Regions from separate parts of the Homo sapiens genome. Here region 2 is linked to region 1. The links are contacts of gene promoters, found by promoter capture Hi-C in human tissues and cell types (Jung and others, 2019). All regions are on one chromosome and are shown on one strand. Each heading gives the region's core, a stretch centred on a gene start or on the middle of the fragment in contact. The rest is flanking DNA. Distances are from core to core; before and after follow the strand shown. Region 1 holds the start of SKOR2 (SKI family transcriptional corepressor 2). Region 2 holds the start of MIR4527 (microRNA 4527).

Region 1 (2,700 bases), core at 96-2,595:
TTAATTTAAAATAGACACAACTCCTGAGCAACAAGCCCCTCACGTTTCTGTTCAATTGACTTTCCTTGGGTTTATTAACCTTTGATGAAGGTTAAGATTTCACATTTTTGCTCTTGTATTTAGGAGTGGTATGTTGTTGGTGCTATGACACAATCTGGGTGGGCTTTCAGCTTGGTAGATGTTTTTCCATCATTTCCACAATGCTAGGACTGTTTCACTAGGCAGCAATTGAAAATTCAGCTATGGTAGTAAAGGAAAAACTTAAAGGATTTCCCAGCCCCACCCCAGCCGGCATCCTTCTTAGAACATACTCCAAATAAGTGGTTTCTTTCCTTTCCGATAAACTAGCCAGTGGTCGTTTTGACTCTTAACAGCTGGTCAATTGGGACGCACTATATTGACACTTCATTAATACACTAGGGTGCGCCTCATTTAGGGAAACTGTGAGGAAATGTTTTCTCATCCTAGTCTTTATTTTAGGGGAGGAGATCATGCTTCTACATGTTTTCCTGATTAAATTTATTTATTTCTCCAGGAAAATTGGCAACTTGCTGAAGGACTCTTCCATGTGGGGGACCTCCCTGCTTCCCTGCCCCACCCTTTCCTTGTGTAGAGGTAGCCTTACGGATCTTGTAAAATGGGTTAGAGGACGATTCTGAATGAAGTTTGATAAATCGATGTGCATATGCACATATTGGGGTCCTCACCTAATTGTACACTCCATAAAATAGAGAAGGCTGCAGTGACTCTGCATCTTGTCCTATAAAGCAAATGTATATGCAAAAGTCGGGGCACTCCAAGTTTTCTGATTGGGCACCCTATGTGGAAACTTCTCTCCTTTTTCTCATTTCATAGCGTTTCAAAGGAGTCACTGAAGCTAATTTATTCTCCAGCTGACTGTGGATTCTGTCTTCAGACACAGAGCAGCTTTGCATCCTGTACCAGAGGGATCATTCATGAAGGAGGGTGACTCAGAAATGAGGGGAGGAGACAATAACGGTCAGGGATATAGTTAATTTGGAGGCGTCCTTCTAGAATCCGGGGCCTCCAGGATCTAGGTCCCGGGATGCAGGCAGACTGTTCGCTTTCCACTCCTAAATCAGATCTGCGGCTCCAGCACCATTGCTGCAGTTTACTCCGGGGCTGAGGAGGTTGTTGTCAATTGCGAGTTGGTTAGGTTGGTAGCTTTCGTGCCTGCTGAGAAAGGATCTCTCTGTTGCTCGCGCTGGCTTTCGCTCTCCCCCTCCCTCCCTGTAACATGCCAGCCCTTTAATGTGGAGTGTCAGGGAGACGGTGACGTCACCCTGCCCGCTGGGTGGCGTCCCCTCGGTCCGACACGAGTTCAGAGACAGACGCTGTCAGACTGCGCTCCACTTGGGGCTCTCCTGCCGCGGGTTTCTGCGTACCCACACTTTCTGCGGTGGAGGGGACGCCCCGCCGCAATTCAGGCCGTCATTCTCCCCAGGCCGGGGTTTGAGCGCCATTCGCTCGGGCCAGAGCCCGGATCTTCGCGCGGAGCCCGCCAGAGTCCCGCCCGCTGGATACGAGGACCCGCTTGGATGCTTCGCCTCCGAGCGCCCTCGGAAGATGGGCCGGCAGCCACACGCCTAAAGACACCCAGAGGTTACCAGGTATTGCCGGAACCGGCCGCCCCAATCCGGCACACAGCTTGCTGGGCACCTATTTGAGATCCCCAGCGGTAGGATTTTCCGCGTTAGGTTGAGGGGCAGCGGTGGGCTTCCGTGGTGACTGGTTTGGGAGTCGGGAGAACTAAGTTGGGGGTGGGGGGGTCTTTGGCTGTTGGGCAGGATAGGGAAGTTCACCAGGTTCCTTTCTCAGTTCAACTAACTTTTAATTGTCTCTTCTCCCCTCCCCACCCACCCAAAAAATAATGCCCCAACCAAAACCTTGTGTCTGCTCTGACGGCAGTTTCTGGGAGGGCTTGGGGTAAAAGTGAGGAGACACTTCTGCCTGGTCTACTGCTGCTAAGGCTGCGAGTCCTTAACGCAGAGCCAGCTTCCCGCCCCGGCTGGCCAGCCGCGCGCCTTGCTGGGGAGCGAGAGTTGGAATTATCCCAGGGTCTTATTAAGCGGATATGAATCTTGTTTGGTAGGGAAATGAGCATCGAAGGGCCACCTGACGAAGCTAGTGTTGGTTGTATCAGACTCGGGTGTCACTGCGCCTTGAACTGCCATGTAACGCCCTGTCCCCTGGAAATATTGTCTCTGATCCACCCAAAGTGACAAGCAGGCTTTCCTCTCCTTTGATCGCGTCGAGGTTTGTTCAAGCTTCCTGGAGGCCGCCAAATGTAATGAGAACTGAGGATCCAGGGGGCAGCAGGACAGAGGCTGCTGTATAGATGCCACAGGGGCCCAGAGAGAGGACACGGATAAGAAATTGGGTGAGGGAGTAAGATCGTGTACCCTCTGAAAGCACTGTAATAGCGAACTCGCTGTACGTGGCCGAAAGGGGCCACGCTATGGCCTCTGGTGATTTTTCAGGGCAAAGCATGCCTTGGCCAATGCGCTTGAGATGTAGCTGTGGAAAGATCAGTGTTTGTTTTCCTAGGGAGTGAGCCACTTTCCTTCTTTCCACTTAGTGGCATTGTCACTAAAATTTCTTTCCGCTTCCTTGTTCTGTATTTTCAACTTACTGAATATTTTCCCTCATTGTGGCATTCTGTTGACTGGAGGTGAAGTT
Region 2 (2,748 bases), core at 162-2,661, 130 kb before region 1:
CTCTCTTTGCTCATGATGTCTCCTGACTTCCCTCAGAGAATTTGGAAAGCACTTCTCAAGATATATCCTTATGATTAGGCTCAATTGCAAGCAACAAAGATTCTAAACATGGTGGCTTAAACAGAGTAGTGGTGTTTGTTCTTTTTGTTCCCGGAGAAGTCAGATGTAGGCAGCACAGAGCTGATGTGGATCTTGGATTCACAGTCATCTCTTTGCAGACCACTTCTGGCCTCTGCTTCACATCTTCATGGTCCAAGATAGTAGGCTTATGATTCCAGGCAGCTGGCTGGAGGAAATGACAGAAAAGAAAGTCTCCCAGAAGGTGCTGAGGACCCATTCACATCCCACTAGCCATGATGTACAGTCACATGGCCACATACAGCTGCACAGCCTGCTGGAAAATGTAGTTTTACTTCCAGGAGGCCATGGGCTCAGCTAAGAGCTCTATGACATGAAGTAGAGGGAGAACGACTATGAAGTTAAGCAATTGGTGATTACTGCTCTATCAGTTCAATCCTCTACTTTATAAGTAATTAAAATGAGGTGGTAGGATGATTATAATAAGATCATTGGTTAAGGTTGTAATGCCCAAGAGATTTTCCCCAATACCCAACATAAGGCTTGACTTAGACAAAAACAAAAAGATAAGCCCTTGTCTTCCCAGTGGGAAGGGAGATATGCCAGCCAACATTAACATGATAAATGATGTGACAAAACTAAGTGCAAAATAGAATGGGAATAACAACACAGAGCACCCAAATCTCTCTGTGAGGGTCCAAGGGGTCACTGAGAGAGAGTGCTTTGCAGCTGAGGCTGGATTAGTGTGAGAATTGGTGTCTGTTGAGTGGACAAGAATGGGGAAAGATAAGTCTGGCAAAAGGAACAGTGTGTGCAAAGGCCCAGAGGCAGGATAGTGGACCATTTTTGGAAGCTAAAAAGAGGTGCAATATTGCCAGAACATACAGGGCAAAGGGGGTGTGATGGTTAATTTCACGTGTTCACTTGGAAGGTGTTTTCAGATAAGATTAACATTTAACTTGTTGAACTTTGGGTAAAGCAGAGTGCCCCCAAGGCTTCAACATACATGCATATCCTATCGGTTCTGTTTATCTGGAGAAGCCTGACTAATGCAGGAGATGAGGTTGGACAGATAGGCAGGGACCAAATCCTGAATGGCCTATGTGCCATTCAAGGCCATTTCCATCTTACACCATAGAAAAGGGGGATTCATTGGAGACTTCTGAGCAAGATAGGGGTCAGACTTGGATGTAAATCATGGCTTAGGGGTGTGGTGGGGACTATGATAGACCAACATGTACTGTTCGTCTACCGTACGTGATAAGCACTGTTCTAGAAGCTTTAGAGGAGAGTGGTCAAGGCCAGTGGCAGGGAGACAGAAGATAACTGGATGTGCTAGTGGAAAGGTAGCAGAGGCAAAGGAGACTCCCAGGTTTCCAACTTTCACAGCTCCACAAGGACAGAGCCTGACTCTCTTGCCCATCCCTGCACCCCCGGCACTAGCACAGTGTCTGGGACTAGGCCTGCATAATTCTTTTTGGAATCCAGAATGAATAGCTAAAGAGATAAAGACTCTAACAAAGAAGGGTTGTAGGTCCAGCGTAACATTGTAAACAAATGGGTTCTCACTTCAATTCAAACACTTGTTGACTAACTGAATGAAGGGCCCAAGGATGTGAGATGCAGCCATGCCACCCGCATTGGCCCTATATGCCCTCCAATCTGATGAAGGTGCTACCAGGAAAGCAGAGGTGGAGGGTAACATTCAGATTTCAGAGAATGCTGCATTTCTGCTTTTCCTCCAAAACATCCTTTCTCCACTGAGGGATGTATGAAACTCCACTGTTTAGAGCTTAACATCCTTAATCCTGACGTCCTAGTAAAGGCAAAATCCCATAGGCGAGGATCCCCCTCTACAGCCTAAGAAGACATTCACACCCAAGTGTTGACGGTGGCTCTCAGCGCAGGAATGGGTGAGGAGGAGAGAAGTAGGAGTGGGACATATCTGAGGGGAAACAGAGGAGATGAAGGGAGGCTGAGAGCCGCTGAGGCCAGCCTCATCCCTTGATAGTTTTGCAGAAGTTGAGCTGTCTTTGGAGAGGGAGAGGAGGACTGAGAGCAGCAGGCTGGAGTCCATCAAAATCTTTGCTGCTTCCTTGAAGAGGACCCAAATGCTAAGGATTGGAAGATTAATCCAGTGACTAAACTTGGTGGCAGGCTCTTACTGTTGACACATGGGGACCTTTTCATACCACATTTTAAATATATTTCTGCCCAGAAGAGGCAGTTGACAGGCTTGGAGAGACCTAATGGAAAACAGCAGCTAATACTGCAAGTCAGCAAAGCTTGTCAACCTGGACGACATCATCCCTCACCTCCTCTTTCATTTTTATAGGAATGGCTCAGAAACAGAGAAGAGAAATTTCAAAAGCCAAACAAAAAATCAATACTGTAGGAGATAACCCAGCATTAATATGAAAACCAGAGAGGGCTTCTTTGTCTCAAGCCTCAGCAGCACTATCAATCACACTTCTTGGATAGATTTGGGAGGCTACTTTTGCTCACAGCAGGCAGGATCCGTTTTAGTTAAAATGCCTGTGGAGAGTGGGATTTAGGTAGAGTGAAGCCTGATTCAGGGCGTAGGGGGATGCATCGTCCCCCCCTCCCAGGTGGCCCCTCTAGGACTCCTAGCCAGTCTCCAGGCCAAGGCTCACAAGACAGGAGGACGAT

Evidence for each region. The method cuts DNA at HindIII sites, captures the fragments that hold promoters and counts their contacts. A contact is called where the count stands out against the background at its distance.
Region 2: a fragment that was not itself captured here is called in contact with the fragment with the promoter of SKOR2 in region 1 in 3 of the 25 tissues and cell types used here (liver, spleen and thymus).

The regions. Positions count from the first base shown.
Region 1 is chr18:47,250,305-47,253,004 of GRCh38, reverse strand. It overlaps SKOR2 (SKI family transcriptional corepressor 2), which reads left to right and starts at 1,345. Exons shown (of 9, transcript NM_001278063.4): 1 at 1,345-1,631. RefSeq lists an enhancer at 961-1,477. The HindIII fragment of the contact is 10,120 bases long and covers 1-2,700 here.
Region 2 is chr18:47,377,977-47,380,724 of GRCh38, reverse strand. The region is part of intron 1 of MIR4527HG (MIR4527 host gene); the gene reads right to left. It overlaps MIR4527 (microRNA 4527), which reads right to left and starts at 229; the gene lies at 160-229. The HindIII fragment of the contact is 4,464 bases long and covers 1-2,748 here.